Linked DNA regions of Homo sapiens: region 1 is linked to region 2. The links are contacts of gene promoters, found by promoter capture Hi-C in blood cells and fetal thymus (Javierre and others, 2016). All regions are on one chromosome and are shown on one strand. The core of a region is centred on a gene start or on the middle of the fragment in contact, and the rest is flanking DNA. Distances in the headings are between cores, read along the strand shown.

What was found. Contacts are between HindIII fragments. The CHiCAGO score rates a contact against its expected background, and 5 or more counts as called.
Region 1: a contact is called between a fragment that was not itself captured here and the fragment with the promoter of TBL1XR1 in region 2, in 1 of 17 cell types (erythroblasts). The highest score is 8.1, in erythroblasts.

The regions. Positions count from the first base shown.
Region 1 is chr3:178,258,717-178,264,738 of GRCh38, forward strand. All of the region lies in intron 2 of LOC105374235 (a long non-coding RNA gene), which reads right to left. Among named protein-coding and RNA genes, the nearest start is that of LINC01014, 160 kb to the right of the region's middle. The HindIII fragment of the contact is 1,151 bases long and covers 3,630-4,780 here.
Region 2 is chr3:177,196,198-177,202,167 of GRCh38, forward strand. It overlaps TBL1XR1 (TBL1X/Y related 1), which reads right to left and starts at 1,285. Exons shown (of 16, transcript NM_024665.7): 1 at 924-1,285. RefSeq lists silencers at 327-376, 857-956, 1,067-1,256, 1,497-1,876 and enhancers at 862-1,371, 1,372-1,879. The HindIII fragment of the contact is 6,955 bases long and covers 1-5,970 here.

The DNA.
Region 1 (6,022 bases), core at 2,955-5,454, 1.1 Mb after region 2:
GTATGTGGTCTTGAGGAAATTCACTTAAAATATAGCAACGTAGGCAGGTTAAAATTAAAGGATTGGAAAAAATATGCCACTTAAACTTGATCAAAGGAAATTAGAAATTATATTAATAATGGATAAAGTTGACTCCAGAGCAAAGAAAGTTACCAAAGACAGAGGAGGGATAGAACATAATAATAAAAGTGTCAATTCACCTAGAGGACATTGTAATCCTAAATGTGTATGTACAGATACTAGAGCTACCAAATACATGAAACAAAAATTAATAGAACTGAAAGGAGAGATTTTAAAAATTTACACTTACAGTTGGAGACTTCAAATTTTTCCATTCAATAATTTATATAACAAATATATAATCAGCAAAGATATAAAGTAATTAAACACCATCAAACAACAGGATCTAAGTGACACTTATAAAACACTTTACCAACAGCAGAATACACATTACTTTAATATTCACACCAAACATATACAAAGATAGGTCATGTGCTGGGTCATAAAACAAATCTCAAGAGAGTATTCTCTCCAACCACAATAAAAGCAAACTAGAAATCAATAGTATAAATATAACAGGAAAAACAGAAAGGGCTATCCATAAGGAAATGAAAAATTTTAGTGGAGTGTTTACACCATGCAGCATTAACTATATAATAGTTAAAATAATTATGGTATGGATAAATCACAGAAATATAAGGTGAAATAAAAATTTTAAAACAAAGTTGCAAAACAAAAACAGGAAAACAGGATATTTATGTAAATATTACTAAACGCATGTACAAAAATATGTTTTAATTGGTTATGGATTAAAAATATAACAATGGACTGGAACACAATATACTATACTAATAATCATGGTCTCCGTGAAAGGAAGAACAATGGATATTGCAAAAGAATATAAGATGTATCTGTATTTGTTTAAATGATATGTATGTATGTATGTCTAGATACCATGTAAATTTTAAAATTCTAACTAATATTAACAACTTGAAAGGACTTACATCTATCTATATGATTTAGTGCTTAAAAAATTGGATGCTATGCAGAATAATGTTAACAGAATTTGCTATAGTCTTCTTATAAGTCCATACAAATGCTTAATGTGTTGTGGTTTTGTCTTTGTTGTCAGTGTAACCTAGGTTCAAATTACTAGTCCACTACTAGGAAGTTGCATGACTCTAGACAACTTGCTCAAATTCTGTCCTGAATTCCTATGTCCTTATCTTGTGCTAACCCATATATATGTTTTTAGGATTCAATGCAGCAATAAATAAAAGACAAATAATGTATTGAGTTAGCTGGCACTTACTGAGCATCTAATAAGATGTAGTTACTTTAGTAAAACCTTAGTGCATTCATGACTAAGTTTACTTTTCTTGCAGAAAATGGGTAGAGTTAAATAAGACTTATTAAATGATCATTTTGAAAATTTATTTACTTATATATTCATTTCTGTCAATGATTTTCACAGCTTGGAACATTAAGAAACAGTAGCAATTTGTAGAAAGATCATCTGGGATGCACTGAACTAAATGATACTCTTTCTTAAAATGCACTTCTCACCCACATAGAAATGGTAGCCATGTATAATGATATGAACGAATCTCAATATTCTTATGTTGTTCTGAAAGGAACTAGACACAAAAGAGTACATAATATATTACTTCATTGATATGAATGTATAAAAAAGAAAAATCTATTATGACAGAAAGCACATCAATGGATACTTAGGACCAGAAGTGCATGGAAAATTAAATAAGGGCACAAGGAACTTTTTAGGATGATAGAAATGTTCTATATATTGATTAATTCACAATTATATTGCTGAAGATTTAAGGTGTATAAATACGCCAAAAGTCATCAAATGTGCACATAAAATGGGTGCATTTTAATGTGCAAATTATACCTCAATAAAATTGTTCTTTTTCAAAAGTGAAAAAAAAAAAGAATTATACACTAGGACCAAGTGGGATTTATACCAGGCATTTAATGTCAGTTTAACATCCAAAAACTAATTAATGTAATACCATATTAATAGAATAAAGAACAAAAAACCACATGATCATTTAAAAAAAAAAAAGAAATGGTAGCCATGTGAAACAAAAAGCCTTCCTCTAAAAAAGGAAAATACTCCAAAAAACACTTAGTGTAAAGCCTCTTTCATGGGTCCATTCCTTTGATCTTGCTTTTAAAAAACATTAACTACACTTTGTTTCTTAGGCTGCTTACTTTCAAATAAACTAGCAGGTGCCCTTTTCCACCCCTGTTCCTGGCGAGACTCTGCTTTCACAGAAGTCTGGTATCTGGAAGCCTCCTTATCAGTGTCATACATAGTAAACATCTGAAATTTATTATCACTGTCTCCAGGCTGAGGAAAACATGCTCAACAGTCACAACTAAGAAGTTTAAAGTTTTACAAAGTTTTTTAAAGTTACAGGCAACCACGTTTTGACTTGTTCCTAAAACAAAAAGTAACAGCAACCCACACGTCCTTTCCTATATTCTGGCAAGAATAGCAGAAACAAAATGTCATGCACTTAAACATATGTTGAAGATTAGAATGTAAATAGGAAAAGTGCAAAAATTTTTATAGCTTTTCAAACTATAGGAGATAAGTAATATCTTTGTAATGTGAAGAAAGCCATTTTCATTATCACGGGGCCTTGACAAGTAGCTTCCCACACAGCTTGTCAAGTCAAATGCTACTAATACTGCCAGAATACTGATTTTGTTCATGCTTTTGTTATGTCTGAAGGGAGGATTTTATGCATTTAGCTCAATGAATGCACTGACAAACTGATAGGTCTTCCAAGTCACTGTTGATAAAGAAACAAAAAAAGTTTGATAAATGGATTCTCTGCCTTCTGCTTCTATGCTGCCTTATGAATACTTATTTTCTACCATGATAAGAATTATTGTCATCTATATGTCCTTCCTCACAATGCTGCACACCTTTCTACTCTCACCAAAACAGAACTTTGTTTCAGTTTGTCCTACAAAGGGTAACTTTTTTACATACCTGATGCCTCCTCAGGCTTGGTCCCTTGTGCTCCTAAAAACCAATTTTAACGATGAAACAGGAACGGAAATGACAGTCTACATTTGAGGAATATTTCATCATTTACAAACTGCTTTCATGTGCAGTATCCAATTTCATCCTTCTTACAACTGTGAATTAAGGGATATTTTCTAATTTAGCAGACAAGGAAACTGAGGGAGTAGAAGCATTGAACCATTTGTCCAAGATCACATAATATCTAGTTCACTGTCTTCTGTTTGTTTCCTTGTTTGGGGCTTTTTTTTGTTTTTATTTTTTATTTTAATTGACAAATCATAATTGTATATATGTATGGAGCATGACGTGAGGTTAGACATAAGTATACATTATACACTGATTGAATCAAGTTCATTAATATACCCGTCACCTCACATACTTATTTTTTTGTGTGCTCTGCTTGCTTTCTTGTTTTTAATTGAGAGTGGCATGCCTGCAGTGGAGACCTAAAATCTTTGTAGTTACAGCCAAGCCATCCTGTTGTCCCATAGACTCTTCCTTGGTTTTCTTAATCTAGTATTTTCTATTTATCAGTTGCTGAACTTTACGGCCCGTGTCTCCCGTCATTACAAGCTTGGTCTATGTAATAATTCCTGCACACAAGAGTCCCTGGTTACATGTTTGTTGAAAGAACAAATGGATGAATTAATATAGATATAAAACTAGTAGCTTATGTGTTTATTCTTAAGGCTGCTTAAGGATCAGTTGCTTTTAATCTGACTCAGTAATTACCTTTTTTGTCCTGAAGAGGTTGTTACAGGAGTCTATGCAATTATATTGTGAATGGTTACATGATAACATAAAATATTACCAAATAAAACATTACTACTTTATGTGGTAAAATCTTCTCTCTCTGCCTTGCCAAAATCATAGTTTGGAGTAAAAAGGTGCTTGAAATTCTTATGTATTTTGTACCACACAAGTTAAATAGAATGTAAATCATGCAAATGCACAGACATGCATGCAACTTTGACTATCCTATGTATTTTTCCATTTTCCCTTCTGAAATTGTTTCTGTCAATATTTTGATTTAGATCCCACCAAAAGGAGAGAAAGAGAAAGATTTAATCAGAATATTGTCAAACACCTAAGAATTAGTGGATAATATGGTATTTGAAGTCTGATACATAACATTCTTAGGAGATACAGCTCTTGTAGGCATTATTATTAAATCATTTCTAGAAAAATTATTTACTTACAGGAATTCCAGATACAGCTTTATACTTTTAGCAATTATCTATTCAAGTCTTATGTATGTGTTTACACTGTAGTGTGTGTGAAATATATATATATATATGTATATAAAAAACTGGCATTTCCCAAATACCACAGTCTATGGCCTATGTACATCAGAATAATATGGAGAGCTATTTCATTTTTAAAAAGTAAACACTGAATTCTACACGTACAATTATTGGCATTACAGACACATGAATGAACTGAATTCTAGAAATAATAAAAAGCTCAGGATTATTTCAAGCTATACATAGGCATGAAGTTTAGATGTTCGCCTGAGTTAGTGTGTAACTTCCGTATTAAGTATTGCAAAATGCTGAAGGTCAGTCAGTTGTCTTATCTACAGGAAGAAGGATATGGTTCTTTCTGCACTTAACTATACTTAGGGTAGTTTCTTCTGATTATTAAAGCCTATTCTTGAAGGCTGGGCCTTTTAACTGTGAGTTATTTAAGGGATTACACAGCCTGGTTTCAAATTGCCTTACAAGCTTCATCTTCCTCTATTCTACAAATGAACACTGAGCTCCAACTAGACCAAATACAAACCATTAGTCTGTCATCACATGGTTGTCAAGTTCTATTGTTTTTGTTGTATGTATCATTTCCCTTGATATGTGTATCTGAAGTTATATGTTTTTTTTTTTCCACCACAAGATTCTAGAAGGGCAAATCTTGGATCTTTTATTTTCAGCTCCTTCCCTCCAAAACCTAACCATCTCTCTGCAGCTTAGACTAGTTGTTTTACATTATAGTAACAGCTTAATAGTTTAGTAAAAGCTCCATACATTTGTGATATATGAATAAACAATTAGCATGAACTATATTCATTTGACCAGAAATTAATAAAACCTGTTATTAGTTAATTTTTGATAACTGTGAAACAGAATGTGTCAGGACATGGTAATTGACATCATGTTTCATACGAAGCAGGAAATTGATTAGATGTTTGAGTTTTCATTCAGTTTTAATCTGCCTTTGTTTATAGTGATGAGATTCCAGAAGTCAAATTATTTCTTTTCTGTTTGTCTTCTCTATGCTGTCTCATAGTGGTGGGAGGAGAGAGCAATGTAATTCTTATTCCCCAAAAAGGAAGTTTTGATTTCAGAGAAAAGGGGGCTACCTGGTAAAAAGCATTTCTGCCTCTCATCCATGCACTGAGAATGAGAAAGTAATTCAGGAAATTTCTGCCTCTCATCCGTACACTGAGAATGATAAACTAATTCAATAATTCAGGAAAGGTATTCAGATGTAAAGTAATTGTAGTGAGGCATTTTCCATGAACATCAATTAGAAATTTGAAATTAAAATTGTAAGTAAAAATAGTTCATTAGTACTTTAAAGGGAAAAAAAGAAAAGAATACTAGTTGTGTTTTACTTTGTGCAATACTATTATATGAAAATCCAAACTGCAAAACAATGTAGAGATTTTATTTGCATTGAGAAATATTACTTTATAAATATCACAGCCAGGCGTGGTGGCTCATGCCTGTAATGCCAGCACTTTGGGAGGCAGAGGTGGGCGGATCACCTAAGGTCAAGGGTTCGAGACGAGCCTGGCCAACACAGTGAAACCCCATCTCTACTAAAAGTAGAAAAATTAGCCGGGTGTGGTGGCACACACCTGTAATCCCAGCTATTTGGGAGGCTGAGGTAGGAGAATCACTTGAACCTGGGAGGCGGAGTTTGCAGTGAGCCGAGATCATGCCACTGCACTCCAGCCTGGGCAAC
Region 2 (5,970 bases), core at 35-2,534:
TTAATATTCCACTTAAATAAAAGTCTGCTTCTGTTCAAAAAATTAAATCGGTTGCAAAGAGGAAGTTACCGAGAAACCACCCTCACAACGTGGCCTTTACACTGTCAGAAAATAACGTGACTCTGTGCCACCCAAAACTTACCAGGAAGCTGGCAATAACTTTGCCAATTCTACACTCCTGAACCCAACTTCAAAGAGCCTCCACCAAATACCTCCTTAAGACGATAAAAAGCACTAAGTTACAAATAAACACGTCCCGGAGCAAGGCCCGGCTGCCGCGCGCCCCTCCCCCGGCCGGCGCCCCCGCCCCGGACGCGCGGCCCCAACAGCCGCCCGCAGCCCCCAGCACGCCGGCCGGGGTCGCCGCGCCCGGGCCGGGGACGCGCCCGGGGAGGGGAGATTTCCATTGCCGCCCGAGGTTTCACAAAATAGCATGCACCGAAAAGCTCCTTCTCCTCTGCTAAAAATAGGCTATAAAGGAGTCGGCCTCATGATGGCTCCTTGATTCAATTTGCTGCAAATCCTTTCCTGAAAGCCTCCCCCCCCAAACACACACGCACAAAAAGGGGGTGTAAATGCACGAAGGGAGGAAGAGGGGGAGAAGGCCGAGGTGCACATTTTCGGGGACAACATAATTAGGGTGAGGATCCCCCGAGACCGGGAAAGGGTAGGGGGGTGGGCAGGCACGTGAGCATTTCAAAGAAACCTGAGAGAGGAAAACGGGGGGATGGGGGCGCCCCAAGTGCCCTCCCTGCCTTCCCTTCCCCCACGCAAGCCCAGTTCCCCCAAGGGCCAAGTTGAAAAATGCATGTTCCACTCGCGCCCATCCCCCCGCGGCCCAGCGCCCCCGGCCGCCTCTGGCCCGCGCCCCCCGCCCAGGCCCCCGGCCGCCCCCACTCCAGGGTCCGGCCCCCAGCGCTTACCTGGAAACGGTGGCCTCCAACGCCGCTCCCCCCTCCCGGGAATGGAGGCACAAGGAAATTCCCCTCCTCGCCGCCGCCGCCACCGCCTCCAACCACCCCCAAAATAACCCCTCCGGGGGGTGAGAGGCAATTATAACCCCAGCGAGCGGAGGGCGCGGGGGATGGGCGCCGGGCGGGCGGGGGCGGGGAGCGCGGCGCGGGTCCCCAGGTGGCGAGCGGAGGTGCTCCCGCCGCGGGGGGAGGGGCGGGGGCGCACGCGGCCGGCGGCGGGGGGAGGCGGCGCGCGGGGGAAGGGCGCGAGCGGGGAGAGGAATTGAGGCAGAAGGTAAAAGCTGTTACTAAGGGAAAGAGCCAAACGGTTCGGAGCAGCCAACGGCTCAGACACTCAACACTGGGGAGAGAGGAATGGGGACCAGCCAGGCACAAATGAGCTCGCGAGGCCCGCGGCGGCGGCGGCGGCGGCGGCCGCGCAGCAAAACAAACCCGAGCGGCCTGCGCCGGGCGGGCGGGCGAGCGGGCGGGCGGGCGCGCGGGGGAGGGGCCGGCGGGGGAGGGGCGCCGCGGACGCCGGGAGGCGGCGGCGGCGCGGCGGGGGGGCTCCAGCGGCCGCGCTCCTCTCCTTCCCGGCCCGCTCTGGCGGCACTGGGGGCTGGGCTGTGCGGCGCATTCTTTTAAAAATCAGGCGAGCCCCGCGGGCACTCGAAGGCGCCTCGGGGCCCCGGGCCGCCCGCCCCGCCCCCACCGCCGCGGGCCGGCCTGGGTGTGCTCGGGTGTGGGCCGCTGGGCCCGAGACGGGTGGGGGCGGGGAGGCCCGCGCGGTGGCCGGGGTGGAGCCGCCGGCGAAGTTTCCCCAAGGACGCCGCGGGCTCCCGCGTGTCCGGGGGGCGGCCCGGCGGCGTTGGGGGCTGGGCGCACACGCGGCGGGCATGTGGGGGAGTGCGGCGCGGCATCATATGGACATTTGTTTGTGAAAATCTCTGTGAACACCTTTGTGTGCGTAAATACATATGGTTCTCCGAAGCGTACCTGGAAAGGTGCTTTATCTGTAATAAGCGACTTTCAAAATGTGATCCAGAGCACGGGATCTGGAGAGAAAACACGCACACAAGAAAAGGTTTTTGATACTAAACACAAAGCTGTAATTGAAGTATTTATGCCCAAATGTACTGTGAATCAAGCATATGGTGGTATTTATCATCTGGTGGGTCTGTTTGAAAGGTTTGCTCGATCAGTTCTTATTTCACAAAAATAAAATAATGTAACTAAATGTTTACTAAATATATACCTGCACAGTGGCATCCACAGTAGAAGTTTATCCACTTTGTGTACTTTTTGCATGTGTGAAGCACAGCAAGGCGGTTTATAAAGTATAACTTAGATGAGTGATAATGTGGCAGTATGGTTGAGGGAGGGTTGTTTTTAAAGAAGGGAGGCACCTCACAGGTTTTAAAGCAAATGGGGTGGTAATCTTTCTAAGACTTTCAGAAAGATGGGGTAGGGTGCTTTTTAGAGCTTTGTATAAGCTCAGGACTGGAGAAGCAGCCACCCTTTTACATTAAGATACGACTTGAAACCTTTTTGTTATTTCGCTTATTACTGCCTTCAAAGCAAAATAATGTTTGCAGCTTTCTTAAAGGTGAAGGGTTCTGTTTTCCTACTTTCATCAGAATATTTGAAAATAGATGTAGTGATCACTTTAAAGCAACCATCATTTCCTCTCAATATCAGAAACCTGAAGTTTTGCGACACACACACACACACACACACACACACACACACACACACACTACTCGTAACTTGCACCAGTCTGGACTCCTGGTGGCCTAATAAGTTCAGTAATTAGACAGGTGCTTTCTTGGCCAAGGTCAATGTCTCTTTCCCCCCTGAGCCCTTGCTTGGGGGAGCTGCCAGAGGCCTTTCCTGAATGACCTAGTGGGGCAGGGAGCAGGAAAACCATCAGAGGAAAGGGAGTGGGATTGGAAACTCCCTTCCAACCACCAGAGAGTTCAAAGCATATTAGTGGTGTGTCCTTAGAGCTATTTTCATGTATGAAAGTGGGAATGTTGGATTAAACAATGTCACCCGATGGGAATTTAGATAACTGCAGGTTTCCAAAACACTATGCAGAGTGTACAGGGAAACCGCACAAAGCAAGTTTTGCATTTCAATAGGATTCTAAAGCTGAGGCTTGTTTACCTCAGAACTAACACCTTTCAGAAGACTTTATTTCAGAATTGAAAAGAGTATATAGTATCTTCCTTTTTTTTTTTTTGAGTTGATAAATGACGTAGATATCACTAAACATACCCTGTCTTCAGTAAGTAAACTATCTCGGTGGAGCCACTCAATGAAACATATCTATTGGCTTAGATTATTTTTTAAGTTTCATATTGTGCCACCACGGGCGGGTCCTCTCCATACAGCAGTGACTGTAAAATCAAACCCCACTTTCAGTGAGTGAGGACTTCTCAACCATACCATTCTTAAAGCGTCATATTCAAAGCTGCCCACCCCACCCCTTCTCCTTCCCCTAAATGACTTCTATCCCTTATTCCACAAGGGAGGAGACACCCTCCTTCAGGTTCATAGGATCAGGTCTTCCAGCCTGAAGTTCTTATACCCTACACCAAGCTGCCTCCTAAAGTTGTTCAGTGTTAGTTGAGCCTCCTCACAATGATAATAATCCATGCATTTGTTTATATCCCTGTAGTTTACAAGACATTTCTGTGCGTAAATGACTGCATTTAAATATGAAGATCATCGAGGCTGGGGACTTACAAATCCGTTGCAGTAAAATGTACTTTACTCACCACTGTTGGATCATACTAATTGAAGAGAGAGGAGAGAGCAGGAGTACATTTTTTTTTTTTAGGTGGAGTTTCGCTCTTGTCGCCCAGGCTAGAGTGCAATGGCGGAATGTCGGCTCACTGCAACCTCTGCCTCCCAGGTTCAAGCGATTCTCCTGTCTCAGCCTCCCGAGTAGTTGGGATTACAGGCATGCACCACCACGCCTGGCTAATTTTGTATTTTTAGTAGAGATGGGGTTTCTCCATGTTGGTCAGGCTCGTCTCAAACTCCCGACCTCAAGTCATCTGCCTGCCTCAGCCTCCCAAAGTGTTGGGATTACAGGCGTGAGCCACTGTGCCCGGCAGCCTGGAGTGTTTTTAAACAAACAAACAAAAATAGGGGCACCCAAATGTGGAAAGGCCTTGATTCTTCCAGCAAAGGGGGTTTTAAATCAGATCATATTTTGATCCCTTTGATTTTTATATTCTGGAAACTATCTGAAACAACAGTGTGGCTTCAATGTTAAATACTCAGAGAAATAAACCATCACTCAAAGGTCATATGTATTGTCGCCTCGCCCTCTAGCTGTCCCAACATATCCAGCATAAAGGATCAGGGCTGCACCAAAATACAAGCAATGATTAGACTCACTGGGTGAGGAAAGGACAAAGAAGGAACTATTGTTACTAATATTCAGTACTTTGTCCTAATCTAACACTCCCATTACACTTTGAATTAAATGTTAATGTGTTTCTAGAAAGGAGATATTACTGTATTACTAAGAAATTGTAAAGCAAAGGAACACATTAAGTTCTCCGCTGGGTGTGGTGGTTCACGCCTGTAATCCTAGCATTTTGGGAGGCTGAGGTGGGCAGATCACTTGAGGTCGGGAGTTCAAGACCAGCCTGGCCAACATGGTGAAACCTCGTCTGTACTAAAAATACAAAATATTAGTCGGGCGTGGTGGCGGGTGCCTGTAATCGCAGCTACTTGGGAGGCTGAGGCAGGAGAATCGCTTGAACCCTGGAGGCGGAGGTTGCAGTGAGCCGAGATAGTGCCACTGCACTCCAGCCTAGGCGACAGAGTGAGACTCCGTCTCAAAAAAAAAAAGTTCTCTCTTGAATTTTCTAGCTAATTACTCAATGAAGAGAAACCTCATACCAGTAACTGTTATCAGAAGTTACTATATATTGTAAAATGGCTAAACAAATCCTGACTTGTTTTGCCGGGTGCAGTGGCTCACACCTGTAATCCCAGCACTTTGGGAGGCCGAGGCGGGCGGATCACGAGGTCGGGAGTTCGAGACCAGCCTGACCAACATGGTGAAACCCCGTCTCTACTAAAAATTCAAAAATTAGCTGAGCGTGGTGGCACATGCCTGTAATCCTAGCTACTCAGGAGGCTGAGGCAGAAGAATGGCTTGAAACCGAGAGGGGGAGGTTGCAGTGAGCCGAGATCTTGCCATTGCACTCCAGCCTGGGCGGGTGACAGAGTGAGATTACATCTCAAAAAAAAAAAAAAAAAAAAAACAAATCCTGACTTGTTTTATTTCAGTAATATTTTTCCGAGAGGAGTGTGGCATGGCAAGATAGCCTACACATTTGCAACTTTCATCGCTAAAGACATGGAACATTTTAAATTGAAACTGCTTCAATCCCAGGACTACAGGGTCTCATTACTATATATATTTTTAAATCATCATGATGTTTTAAATTGTTTACATTAGCTCATCTACATAAAGTATTCAAAACAAACTTAATTGTATAAAAAAGACATTTGATACCAAAAATATTCTCCTAGTGCTATAACTCATTTTATATTCTTTACTCACCCTGGAATTCAGTGGCTTTACGTCTGTAGCGTTTACCCCCAGGCGTCTTGCTGATACTCTGTGATGTTTCCGTTTCATTTTGACTTACCTTGTGCAATTCTTTGTGGTTCTTCCGAGATGAGGCACATGCCAACCACACATCTCAAGATGTCAGTACACAAGCTGCTTTTCTCCTTCAGTGCATAGCGTGTTGCTTGTGACCTTTCCTCATCAGTGTGAACCTTGTCACAGTTTTCCATGCTTCTATGACCCAATTTCATTACAACAATAAACTTTACTTGAGAGTCTTCATTTAAATTGCAAAAGAAACATACAACTATCTTACAAGTATTTATGCCTCTCAGATAATGAAAATAGCAGGTTGTATCCTGCGATTGTGATTCAGTCAAAACAGAAAACCAACCACACACACAGCATGTTGCTGTACAA